2 separate regions of the Homo sapiens genome follow, and region 2 is linked to region 1. The links are contacts of gene promoters, found by promoter capture Hi-C in blood cells and fetal thymus (Javierre and others, 2016). All regions are on one chromosome and are shown on one strand. Each heading gives the region's core, a stretch centred on a gene start or on the middle of the fragment in contact. The rest is flanking DNA. Distances are from core to core; before and after follow the strand shown.

Region 1 (6,960 bases), core at 1,242-3,741:
GAACTAACAGTGTAGAAACAGGGTAGGTGGGAAATTTTCATCTCACTGTTGGCTGACCTGGGTTACCTCTAGACTAACAGTCCAGGCTGGCCCCAGGCTAACCAACCTGGGCTACCTCTAGACTAGCAGTCCAGACTAGTCCCAGACTAACCAATCTGGGCTACCTCTAGACTAACAGTCCAGGCTAGTCCCAGACTAACCAACCTGGGCTACCTCTAGACTAACAGTCCAGACTAGTCCCAGACTAACCAACCTAACCAACCTGGGCTACCTCTAGACTAACAGTCCAGGCTAGTACCAGACTAAACAACCTGGGCTACCTCTAGACTAGCAGTCCAGGCTAGTCTAAGACTAACCAACATGGGCTAGCCCCAGACTAACCAACCTGGGCTAGCCCTAGACTACCTCTAGACTAGCAGTCCTCTAGGCTACCTCTAGACTAGCAGTCCAGGCTAGTCCCAGACTAACCAACCTGGGCTAGCTCCAGACTAAACAACCTGGGCTAGCTCCAGACTAACAAACCTGGGCTAGCCCCAGACTAACCAACCTGGGCTACTAGCCTCAGACTAACCAACCTGGGCTAGCTCCAGACTAACCAACCTGGGCTAGCTCCGATTAACCAACCTGGGCTAGCCCTAGACTAACCAGCCTACGCTAGCCCTAGACTAACCAACCTGGGCTAGCTCCAGACTAACAAACCTAGGCTACTAGCCCCAGACTAACCAGCCTATGCTAGCCCTAGACTAACCAACTTGGGCTAGCTCCAGACTAACCAACCTAGGCTACTAGCCCCAGACTAATCAACCTGTGCTAGCTCCAAACTAACTAACCTGGGCTAGCCCTAGACTAACTAGCCTACACTAGCCCTAGACTAACCAACCTGGGCTAGCCCCAGACTAACCAACCTGGGCTACTAGCCCCAGACTAACCAACCTGGGCTAGCTCCAGACTAACCAACCTGGGCTAGCCCCAGACTAACCAGCCTACGCTAGCCCTAGACTAACCAACCTGGGCTAGCTCCAGGCTAACCAACCTGGGCTACTAGCCCCAGACTAACCAACCTGCGCTAGCTCCAAACTAACCAACCTGGGCTAGCCTTAGACTAACTAGCCTACACTAGCCCTAGACTAACCAACCTGGGCTAGCCCCAGACTAACCAACCTGGGCTAGCCCCAGACTAACCAACCTGGGCTAGCTCTAGACTAACCAACCTGGGCTAGCCCCAGACTAACCAACCGGGGCTAGCTCGAGACTAACCCACCCAGGCTAACCCTAGACTAGCAACTGGGCCTCCTCCGGCCCCTGCTCTGGGCTCCGCCTGTGAAGCTGGGTCCTGGGTTGCCAGCTGCTGGCCCAGGAAGATTCCCTGGAAGATTACCTTGCTTTGGGAGGGGGTGGAAACACCAGGGGACCCCAGTGACACTGGAGTCGAAACAGCATCCATTGTCAAAACACTGGTCACTGGTGATTCCAGGGAAGCCGCAGTTCGTCCTGTTATGGGGGCTCAGCCTGGAGCACTGGCAGGGGGCTGTGGAAAGACCCTCAGTCGGCCCCACCCTGGTACCCCAGACCACACTGCTCCTTCTCTCAGAGGTTCTAGGGGATGCCTCTACTGTCTTGTTGCCACATAGAGAAACACAAAGTCTTATCTTGCCCATATTTAAGCAATGCGGTTTCCTCCTGAGAAGCCGATAGGGCTTTGCTGAAATTGTTATATTAGTTTAAAAGGAAAAAAAAAAAAAAGCCAGGCATGGTGGCTCATACCTATAATCCCAGCACTTTAGGAAGCCGAGGCGGGCAGATTGCTTGAGCTCAGGAGTTCAAGACCATCCTGGGCAACATGTCGAAACCCCATCTCTACAAACAATACAAAAAAAAAAATTGGCCGGGCATGATGGTCCACAACTGTGGTTTCAGCTACTCAGGCGGCTGAGGTGGGAGGATCACTTGAGCCTGGGAGGCAGAGGTTGCAGTGAGCCAAGATCACACCACTGCACTCCTGCCTGGGCGGCAAAGCCAGATCCTGTCTCGGAAAAAAACAAAAACAAAACCCTCCTAGAGGAGGGTGAACAGATGGACCCAAGGCCAAGATCCAGGCGAGAGGTGAGTGCTCTGGGACTCCAAGGACCCTTGGTGGGAATGCCCTCCTGGCCCGACACGGGGCCCGCTGACACCTGCCGTCACTCAGCCTTTCCCTAGGAGGGAGGCCCTTCTTGGAGCCACCCTCCTGAGCAGTGGCAAATCCCATGTGAACAACACACATTGCCAGATGCCTTTATAGCCATTCCCCCTCTCAAGTTAATTTATGGTTGTGCTTTTTTTTTTTCTTTAAGAGAAATAAAGAAAGCACATAAAAAGACCCTCTCCTTCACTTACAGGGTTTCTCACTCCCCGCCAGGGCACATAGCCCCAGGACGAGGAGCGCTGCCAGGAGCTGGGCGTCTCGCCGTCCCATGTCTAGCTCAGCTGCACCCCAGGGTGGCTTGCAGAATGCATGGTGTCCACTGCCGGGTATGTTTTATAATCTCCCCTCTGTTTGTCCAACAAGCAGAGATAACCTTTCTTCTCTGCCCCGTGGCCCCAGCCCTTCCACCGTGGAGGCGAAGAGGAGGCAAGAGGCAGCTGTGCCCTGTGCAGGCGAGGCTTCCGGGCCAGGGTGACTCTCTCCCTGCTCGGTGATACCTCTTCCTGCCCTGGACAGAGAGTTGGGTCATGCCAGGCTGCCAGCGTGGAAAACCGGCCACGTGCAGGTCTGGGGCTGGGCACACACAGGGTCACACCCAGGAAGGGATAAGCTATGCATTTCTATTGATAGAGTGGGCAGGGACCACAGGAATTTAGAAAATATTAGGGCCAAGTTTACTGGGGAAAATGTACAGGCCAGCAGATAGCATGGAAAAGTCCCCTCCCTGAGGAAGGGAAGCATCTCAGAGGAGGTAAGAGACTGCTCCCAGGGCTGTGGTTAGAGCCTCCCCAACCGCAGCACGATGCCCTTTGTCCCATCTTCAGCAGGAGGGGCTGCTCTCCATGGAGATGAGGCTGACAGGGTCAGCGGAGTAGCCTGTGACAGGCAGGTTTTAATAAGTTCATTTTCAGCCAACCCCTGAAATGGGTTATTTTTGTTCCATGGGAATGCTCTACATCTTCTGAAAGATGGCACCTGGGACCCAGCCCATGGCCTTCCTGGGGTAGGATGTGCTGGAGAAGGATTCTGTGGACCTGACAGAGAAGACAGAAGCCAGAGAGTAGACACCCGGAAAGAAAGAGGGAAAAGTGTGGTGGGAAGGACAGAGGGGACCCGAAGTTCCCCACGCCAGGGAAATGACAGGGGGTTGCCAGTCTGTTTCTGATGGTTGAGCAGTCAGGGGCCCAGAGACGCAGGAAACCCAAAATCCTTGGTCCACCACGGGGCTGTCCTCAGGGTCTGGAGAGCAGGCCCCATACTCCAGGCCCCCATCCTCCAGGCCCTCGTCCCCCAGGCTCCATCCTCCAGGCCCCCATTCTCCAGGGCTCCATCCTCTAGGCCCCTGTCCTCCAGGCCCCCATCCTCTAGGCCCTCATCCTCCAGGCTCCATCCTCCAGGCTCCATCCTCCAGGTTTCATCCTTCAGGCCATCATCCTCCAGGCCCCCGTCCTCCAGGCCCCCATCCTCCAGGCCCCATCCTCCAGGCCCCCATCTTTCAGGCCCCTGTCCTCCAGGCTCTTGTCCTCCAGGCCCTCATCCTCCAGGCCCCTGCTCCTCCAGACCCTCATCCTCCAGACCCTCATCCTCCAGGCCCCCATCTTTCAGGCCCCTGTCCTCCAGGCCCTCTTCCTCCAGACCCTCGTCCTCCAGGCCCCTGTTCCTCCAGACCCTCGTCCTCCAGACCCTCATTCTCCAGGCCCCCGTCCTCCAGGCTCCATCCTCCAGGGCTCCTCTGGGTCCGGGTCAAGTACCTCCAGGCTCTCTGCTGACTGTTCACCACTGGGCAACCACAGGGACTCGATCCATGAAAACTCTGGCAAGGTCAGTTTCCTTGTTCTACATCCCTGTCACTTTAGTCACCATCATGATATAAGTGACTGAGTCATTGTTTTCTCTCATATTCCCACCCACCTCTCCTCTCTGCTTCCTCCCCATCAACTCGACTTCCCACCGCTCACTGCAGCCCCTTCAGGATTCCTGCTGCGACCACCTGACCCATGCAAAAGAGACCACTTCTCAGCCTCTCTCACTCTCCTGGCCCTGGCGGAAGCCTGTGTTGTCATAGGCATGCTTCCCTGGAATCCTGCTCAGGCCCCCACGCAGGGACACTGAGTGCCCACAGAGTTGGGAAACCATTACACGAGATGGGACGTCTGCAATAGAGTGGCATCGCTAGTTGAAAGTGGAGCTGTTCACAACCTCCACAACTGTACTTGGTGGCCACGTCCCCATCACATGGGCTCAGACTGGGGGCTGGACATTGACTTTGAGCCCCAAGTCTTCACCCTCATGCAAAAACCATCCTCCTTGGAGATGCAGGCTGGGAAGGGCGCCATGTCCGGAGTCCCTGCCCTGCTGTCATCTGCCGACCTTTGTGCAGCCTGTCCCTTTCGTTAAGAATTTCAGCACTGAGTTCACTGTGTTCCTTGTCATGCTAAGACTTGGCCACATCCCAGCCATCTTCAACATGGCGGTCGATGTTTCATCAAAATTCACAGTCGCTCAGATTTTATTTTTCCTCATCTCTAGGAACTTCCATCTCCACTCCACTTCTGCCACTTCTGCCACCCTCCCATGACCACACTCAGAACTTGAGCTCCACCTCTGAAAGAGGGTATGCAAATGTCCTTTCTGCCCAGGATGTCCTAAGCTCCTAACATTCTCCCTTTGTCTGAATCCTAAAGCCCTCCAATCCCCTATTCCCCTGTGAGCCCCCTCCTGTCTATCCTTCCTTCCTGCTTCTCCAGCCTGATTTCCACAGTGCTCACTTCACCCACCGTCTTCCTCACTGCTGTTTCCCACTGTCTCTGTGCCTATGCCATCTGCCTAGCATGGCCGACACCTACCTTGAATTGTTGCCACTCTCAACGCATGATCTCAGCGCCATCCAGGCACTCAGGGCTGGCGCCCTCCTCTTTCTGTTTATCCTTCTCCACCCCTGCTCACTTCCATTTTGCACACTTTGGGGATGATACTTTCCATCAGTTCACATAGAAAGTCAACAAATGGGAACCACCTCAGCTATCACCCATGTGGACTTCCGCTTTTGACTATGGAGTCACTGGTACCAGGCTAGCCTCCCACCATGAGTAACTCTAAAACTACATAAGTAACAGTCTGCAGATGCTGAGCAGCAGGCAGTGCCAGACAGCGATCCCTGAGAGAAGGGAAACAATAGGGGGAGTCCCATGGCTGCCTTGGTTTCCTGGAGACGCTCTCCAGACTACAGCACAGGGAGGGGAACCCAAATAGCACTGAAGTCCCATCGGGCTGAGGAGACAGAGGTCAGAATTGGAAGCTTCTGAGGCAGGCGGGTTATCAAGGTAAGAGAAGGAAGCTCCAGAAATATAAAAGTGTGTCCTTTGAGCTTTTCATCAAATACTATGCTGTTCGTGCCCACAAGGCCAGGCTAAGTAGCCCCTGGGGACAGAACAATCACTGGGGAGGCTAAACTGAACAACTAGTGTAGGGTTCGTGGGGCTGGAAAGCATTTGAGCTCAGAGCAGCCAGAGGTGTTGACCACTTCAAGCATTCAATAAAGGCCATGCCGTAAAAAGAAGGCTGATCTTTCTAGAGGAAAGCTACTCAAAATCCATTCGAACAAAACTTTAAAACAAGTCTTGCAGGAATCAAGTTAACCTGCAAGTAAATTAACTGCTTGTATTAGTTCACTCAGGTTGCTGTAACAAAATACTACACATTGTGTAGCTTAACCAACAGAAGTGTACTTTCTCACAATTCTGGTGCCCAGAAGTCCAAGATAGGGTGTCAGCACATCTGGTTTCTACTGAGGCCTCTTTCTGCTTGCAGATGGCTTTTTTTCCCCATATCTCACATGGTCTTTCCTCTGTGCACGCACATCTCTGGCGACTCTTTTCTTATAAGGACACCAGTCAAATTGAACCAGGGCCCACCCTAAGAGCCTCATTTTAACCTGATTACCCCTTTTAAGACACTGTCTCCAAATGTAGTCACATTCTTAGGTAATGGAATTTAAGGCTTCATATATGAATTTGGGGGAAATAATTCAACCGATAACACTACCTGAGAGAGCAAAGCATTCAACACTTTACTAATGAAGACAGCAAAACCTAAATACACAACATAACATCCCTAACGTCTAACAGAAAATCAGAAGTTACTAGATGTGTGGAGAGAACTAGGAAATATGGCCCATAATCATTAGAAAAATCAGTGAACAAAAACAGACTTAGACATGGCATAAAATGTTCAAAGATTGAAAGAAAAACATAATATAATAAAGGAACAAAAAGGAATCTCAGTAGATAAATGGAAACTAAAAATTAACCAGGTACAAATTTTAGAAATAAAAAATACAACATCTGAAATGAAAAATACACTGTATGGGTTTTTGATTAGATACTATTAGATGCTGCAGAGGAATGGTCAGTTTACTTGAAGTGAAGCCAGTGCAAGATAAACTATGCGAACTAGAGCATAAAGTGAAAAAGGGCTAAACAAATAAACAAGATTCCAATGACCGGTGAGACAATGTCAAGCAATCTAACATACATGTAATTGATGTACCAGTAGGAGAGGAGAGAAAAAAATCTTTTAAAGAAATACTTGATCAAGAATGAGTATTGAGTAAATATTCATTAGATTTTTCTGAAGTTGGTGAAAAGTATAAACCTACAAATCTTAGAGGCTCAAAGAACTTCAAGGAAGATAAATACCAAAAATATCACATCAAGGCACAGCATGATTCGTCTGTTGAAAATCCGGTGATTTAAAAAACTCTTAAAGCAGCTGGA
Region 2 (6,960 bases), core at 1,499-3,998, 100 kb after region 1:
CAAATCCCAAGAAGGCCCCAGGAGCCTGGGAGTGGCTGCGGAGGAATTTAGGGCTGGATGGCCCACAGGACATGGTGAGAACCACTACCATGGGCTGAATTGTGTCCCCCTGAAAAGCTATGTTGGAGACTGATATGGTTTGGTTCTGTGTCCCCACCCAAATCTCATGTTGAATTGTAATCCCCAGTGTTGGGGGAGGGACCCTAACCCTAACCCTATAAACATGGTATTTTTTATATCCTCATATCCTCATACCATATTTAAACCTATGGTAAGCACCTGCTCTTCCACAGGAACAGCAGATAACTGGAAATCTTAGAGGCCTTCCCAGAACTGGGGTTCATCAGAACATGGGTGGCTCCTGACCCATCACTCCCAGACCCAGAGCTTATGCACCATAGGGGAGAGGTGGTTCAGAAGGGATGTGCAGGACAACTAAAGTACAGTAACATCGAGGTCGCTTGACCTGAGGGCAGGACCTATGGTAAGTACCTGCTTTTATGTAGGTATATACAGTAAAGGGAGCAGTCATAGCAGTGGGGGAAGGAAGGTGATTAAATAAATGACACTGGGACAACTGGATCACATTTGGGGAAAAGAAGGTTGGAATCACTCCTCATTCCTCATACCAAAAAAAAACATCAAAGATTTAAATATTTAAAAAAAAAGAAATCATGGGCCGGGCGCAGTGGCTCACGCCTATAATCCCAGCACTTGGGAGGCCAAGGCAGGTGGATCACTTGAGGTCAGGAGTTCGAGACCAGCCTGGCCAATGTGGTGAAACCCTATCTCTACTAAAAATACAAAAATTAGCCAGGCATGGTGGCAGGCACCTGTAATCCCAGCTACTCAGGAGGCTGAGGCAGGAGAATCACTTGAACCTGGGAGGCGGAGGTTGCAGTGGGCCGAGATCACACCACTGCACTCCAGTCTGGGCGGCAGAGTGAGACTCCATCTCAAAATAAATAAATAAATAAAAATAAAAACTATCATAGAGTTAAAAAGTAAAAGGTAAGCTGGGAAAGCTCTGTGCTTCTCATGCCGCCCAGTTCCAGCCCACCCCCTCCAGGAAGCCCTCCTGGCCGCCAGCCCACCTTGCTGCCCCTGAATCCCAGCTCAGGCGTCCTCTGCACAATTCATGTCAGTCGTGTCTGCCTTGTCCTGTTGTTGCGGTCTCTCATCGTCTTGTCTGTCACTCCTTCCCAGGGGTTGCAATAGTGACCGTGTGCCGGGCTTCCAGGCAGCCCCAAGTCCAGTGGGACCAGTGACCCCCCTGCAAAGCTTCTCTGCTCCTATAGGCCAGGATTTCCCAGCCTTGGCACTATTGACATTTGGGGCCAGATACATCTTTGTCAGAGGACGCCCTGTGCATTGTGGGATGTCCAGCAGCATCCCTGGCCCTCCCCTACTGAAGCAGCAGTACGTCCCTCACCCCAGCCCACCAGTTGTGATAAACAAAGATGTCTCCACATGCTGCCAAATGTCCCTGGGGGAGCAGGATCATCCCCAGCTGAGAAGTACCGATGTATTCCCTTCACAGGTCTGCATGGAACCCTGGCCTCAGGGCTCCCACCAGGGCACTCAGGCATAGCGCGAATGGGCACAGGTGTGTTAGGAGTCTGGAGTCGCACATGTGCACTCCTGCTGAGCAGACAGACCTTTATGGAGACGAAGGTTGGAAAGGAATCGGTGCACATCTCGAGCTGAACACTTGTGTGATGCTGCTACGGAGGAAGTCCGAGCAGAACTGGAACTTTGCGGACACTGCCCCTGGACGTAGGTGTGGGCCTGGGCAGGGGGAGCCACGCGGAGGTGCGACCAAGTCCTGCACGGACCTCACTGCCTCCGTGTGATGTGGTGGCTGTGCTGTGAGGGCAGCTGAGCCCTGTGTCCAGCCTCGTAGTCCTCTTGGCTGGCCCCACACTCAAATTCTAGAACATTTAAGTGCAGTGCACCGTGGACACCACGAGGCTCCACACTGTTGGACTCCAGTCCTTTAGCCCAGCTGGGAGCAGCCCTGACACAATAATTCTTCAACAGAGGCTTCTCCTTAACCCTGTCTCATGCTTCTCCTCTCCCCTCATCCCCAAGGCCGACAGATGGTGGCTGCACACACATTCAGGAGATTGCAGGAAATAATTTCCAACAGCAAATGAGACATTAATTATTCAATGCAGATAAACATCAACAACAGCGCTTCATCCAAAGGAATTCCACTGGGATCCAGGGGCTCTGAGTTGGAGCCCAGTTCGGTCCTCTACTCATGGTGACCTCAGACACAGTCTCTGTGTCTCGGGCTCACTGCTGTAAAATCATGCGGCCTGTCGATGGGTCCATGTCACTTGCAGCATCTTAGTCCTCATTCTGGAGGACACGTGCCCTCTTAGCAGTGAGCCCTGGAGGGGCTGACTCGCAGTGTCTGCTGTGTTTTCCAGTTTCCATGATGTAAATGCACCAGGGCTGATTCTGGGCTGCCAGTGTTTTGACAATTGATTTGCAGACTGCGTGAAAATTTAAAACTCAGCTCTCTTGAGCTGATATGAGCCACCCCAGCCCACCCCTGCAGCAGGCACGAACGTTAGTTTGCAGGGAGAGGCCAGCTGAGCTGCTGCACAGACCTGCTGGGATCATCACAGCTGTGCGCTTCAGGCCAGTGCCTCTTCCTGTAAAAGGAAACAACATTCTCTCTACAGAGGATGGAAGGACAGAAGGGCTGAGGCCCATGTGCAGGCGGGGTCAGGAGAGAGAGGAGGCCAAGTCCCTGGGTCTAGGAAAGACGGGTGGGTGGAGCCAGGCCAGGGGCACTAAGTGGAACGCTGTCTGCTCCCTGCGGAGCACTGGACAGACTTTTGGTTCCAGGGATTCATCCCGAGCTGTGTCTCTTCCGGGATCCTTGGCCAGCAGCGACTCTGGCACCTGGAGCACACCTGAAGAGAGCCCCCAAGCTCTCGCCTCTCTCCAGCCCTGCTATCCAACCAGATGTTCCCACTCCTGCTCCTCCCTGCCTCATCGCCTCAGCCGCCCGGGGTGAGCCACCTACTCTCCCAAGGCAAGACACAGCCGGCATGCTTCACACACTCACCTTGAAGTTCAGGGTTGGAAGGTCAGTCCATCCAGCTGAAGTTCACTGCTAGAGATGTAATTGAATCAGCCCTGGCAGGAGCATTTGGACCACAGGAATAGGTAAACACGGCTGCGAGTCAGCCCCTCCAGGGCTCACTGCTAAGAGGGCACATCGTGTCCTCCAGAATGAGGACTAAGATGCTGCAAGTGACGTGGACCCATCGACAGGCCACATGATTTTACAACGGTGGGCCCGAGGCACAGAGACTCTGTCCGAGGTCACCATGAGTAGAGGACGGAACTGAGCTTTAACTCAGATCCCAGTGGAATTCCTTCGGATGAAGCGCTGCTGTTGTTTATCAGCATTGAATAACTAATGTCTCATTTGCTGTTGGAAATTATTTCCTGCAATCTCCTGAATGTGTGTGCAGCCGCTGTCTGCCGGCGCGTGGGGGGTTCTTCATGAAAAGTGAGAGGGGTCCAGCTGTGTGAAAGGCCTTTGCAAATTGCCACAGCAAACTCCCAGAATTATGATGTACTTCTTCCTGTGTGGTTCCAAGTAAATGCCACTTCCGGCTGTCCAGTACCATTTTTTCCTAGGACTTAAGGCCACAAAAATGGATTAAGAAACACACATGTATACATGCAATCTTCCTGGTGAAGTCTTCAAACAAAGTTCTCCAAGAAGTCATTAAAAAATTAATCATCTGGAAATGTCATGTTTCTCCTTCTCTCTCCAAAATGTATTTCTTTCAACCATTAACTCATTCTCTTTCATTGTGTCCCATAGTGAGACAAAACTGTGTTAGGACAATAAACCAAGCAATTTTCCAAAGAAGCTATAGCACGAAAGCAACGTAAATCCCGAAGGAGAAACGCCTGCGAATGAGCTCACCGAAGGCACACTCTCCTCCCAGGAGCCTCCCCGGAGAGGCAGCCCGTTTATTTGAGTTAGTGATTTTGGAAGACACACTGCACTTTCTTTGCCTCCAGCTATCCTTGAGCCATTTTGTTCTCCTTGCGAGGTACTGATAGCACTTATTATCTAGAAAATATAACCAGACTTTGAGGAGAGGCAAGGGGCCCTATAAATTATTTATTTTTTTGCTTCTCAAACTCTGGACCGAGGACCAGGATTACAGGCATTGCCTGGAAGCTTGTTACAAATGCAGGGCCTCAGGCACCCCCGTCTCCGTGTCAGCAGCTGTGTCTTAGCAGGATCCCCAGGGCATTGCCTCACAGTCAGGGTGGTGCAAAAGTCCCGCCTGGCATCCTGGTGAGTGGACCAGGAGGGGGCAGGTGAAGGCGATATTATTGGTCCTTCGACTCCAGACAAGAACTTGCAGCTTAGCCTGAGGAAAGAAATTAGCCCATATGATGAAACACAATCTGATGACGTAAGGATTTTTGTACTTATGCCCACATGTTTAGACATGGCAGCCCGCATCCTCTTAAACCTGAACTTTAACATACCGTGACTTAGAGCCACAAACAACAAAACAGAGGGCAGGAACCAGAGTTCTCCAGAGAAACAGCCAGTGGGAAACAGGACCCACATCCATACGGATACAAACATACAGATACAGGCTGGGAGAGGGAAGGAGAGAGGGGCATTGGCTCACACTCTTACAGAAGCTGAGAAGCCCCACGATCTGCGGGAGCTGTTGGCCTCCCGTCTGGAGGCCAGTAGGCTCGAGACCCAGAGAGAATCGATGTTTTCATTCAAGTCCAATGGCAGGAAAAAGCCAATGCCTCAGTTCAAAGGCCGTCAGACATGAGGAGTTTCCTCTTAGCCTTTTGTTCCATTCAGACCTTCAACTGATTGGATGAGGCCCACCCACCCTGGGGAGGGCCGTTTGCTTGACAGTCTCCTGATTCGAATGTTCGTCTCATTCAGAAACCTCCTCACACACCCCCAGAGTGACACTGGGTCAAAACGTCTTTGCACCCTGCAGTCCAGTCAAATTCACATGTGCAGTTGAGCTTCACATTGGGCATTTCTGCCCTGGTAATGTCCTCCCATTACCAAAAACCTGGTATTTGTCCTTCTTTTCAGTGGGTTTCACAGCCCAGCAGCAGCTGGCCCTCTTGTAGAGCAGCAGTTCCCAGCCTTTTGGCACCAGGGACAAGTGTCGTGGAAGAAAATTTTTCCACAAACCAGGGTGGGGTGGGGGTGGGGAATGGTTTTGAGATGATTCAAGTGCAATTACATTTATTGTGCACACTTTATTTCTATTATCACGTTGTAATATATAATAAAATAATTATACAACTCACCATAATGTAGAATCAGTGGGAGCCCTGAGCTTGTTTTCCTGCAACTAGACAGTCCCATCTGGGGGTGATGGGAGACAGTGACAGATAATCAAGCATTAGATTCTCATAAGGAGCTCACAACCCAGATCCCTCACATGCACAGTTCACAGTAGCGTTCACAGTCCTATGAGACTAATGCCACCACTCATCTGACAGGAAGCGGAGCTCAGGCAGTAATGAGAGCAATGGGGAGTGGCTGTAGATACAGACGAAGCTTCACTTACTCATCCACCCACTGCTCATCTCCTGTTGTGCAGCCTGGTTCCCAACAGGGGTTGGAGGCCTCTGTTACAGAGGACCCTCTCCTGACCGCCAATGAGACCCATGAGCTCACCGTCTTGTCTGCCCTTCCACAGCCCACGCTCCCTCCTCAGCCCACGCCCCCTCCTCAGCCCACACTCCCTCCTCAGGCTCAGCACTGGGAAGAGTTCGTCCTTCCTCACCTCAGCCCTCAAGTGTGGAGTCCGGCGCCTCAGTCATCCACTCAACAGACATTTATGAGGGAATGTTTGGGTGCCATTAACACTGCTGGGAAAGCAGCAGTGGATCAGATACAAGCTCACTCTCAAAGAGCTTATATTTCAGTGGAAGGTGGTGAGCAATGGACTAATAAGCCAGTGAACACGTAACACCTCCTCTGCCAATACGTGAGGTGAAGAGAAGACAGCAGAGAGGGGGACAGAGGCGGAATACAAATGTTATGTTAGCAGTGAACAATCAGTAAGTAAAATAAAAACATCACTTATAGTAGCATAAAGAAACCAGAAGCAAAAGAGGATGTACTGCATGATTCAATTTATATACAACTATTTAGAGACAAATCCAATCTGTGGTGACAGAAAGCAGCACATCAGACGCTTAATGCTGGGAGTAGGGGAATGGATTGCAAATGGGCACGAAGATATTTTCAGGCTGACGGGAATCTGTGTGCTGATTGTAGGGTGGTATATTAGTCTGTTCTCACGCTGCTAATAAAGACATACCTGAGACTGGACAATTTATAAAGGAAAGAGGTTTAATGGACTCACAGTTCCACATGGCTGGGGAGGCCTTATAATTATGGCAGAAGACGAAAGGCACATCATACATGGCAGCAGGCAAGACAGAGAATGAGAGCCAAGCGAAAGCAGAAGCCCCTTATAAAAATCATCAGATCTTGCAAGCCTCATTCACTACCACGAGAACAGTATGGGGAAAACTGCCCCCACAATTCACTTATCTCCCACCAGGTCCCTCCCCAACATGTGGGAATTATGGGAGCTACAATTCAAGATGAGATTTGGGTGGGGACACAGCCAAACCATATTAGGTGGTCACATGGTTGCCTACATTTGTCCAAACTCATTGAACTGTTCACTTAAAATGGATGTTTTACTGTCTACAAAATATACTTCAAGAAAGCTGATATAACATGTTTTTAATTTTTTAATTAGATTGGGATATTAGGCTACTGGTACCAATGCCCAAGGGCTTCCCGTGGGCCCCACGGAGGGCCAGCTCTTGTCACACCCACCGGGTGAGGCACAGAGAGGCCAGTGTTCCCTGAACCCATAGCCAATGGCAACTGATAGAGCACTTTAC

Evidence for each region. Contacts are between HindIII fragments. The CHiCAGO score rates a contact against its expected background, and 5 or more counts as called.
Region 2: a contact is called between a fragment that was not itself captured here and the fragment with the promoter of TFF2 in region 1, in 2 of 17 cell types (total CD8 T cells and activated CD4 T cells). The highest score is 6.6, in total CD8 T cells.

Annotation. Positions count from the first base shown.
Region 1 is chr21:42,348,503-42,355,462 of GRCh38, forward strand. It overlaps TFF2 (trefoil factor 2), which reads right to left and starts at 2,492. Exons shown (of 4, transcript NM_005423.5): 1 at 2,377-2,492; 2 at 1,379-1,528. The coding sequence starts at 2,455. It overlaps LOC105372815 (a long non-coding RNA gene), which reads left to right and starts at 3,791. Exons shown (of 3, transcript XR_937755.3): 1 at 3,791-4,799. The HindIII fragment of the contact is 5,593 bases long and covers 1-5,481 here.
Region 2 is chr21:42,451,020-42,457,979 of GRCh38, forward strand. No RefSeq gene overlaps it. Among named protein-coding and RNA genes, the nearest start is that of RSPH1, 42 kb to the right of the region's middle. The HindIII fragment of the contact is 2,938 bases long and covers 1,280-4,217 here.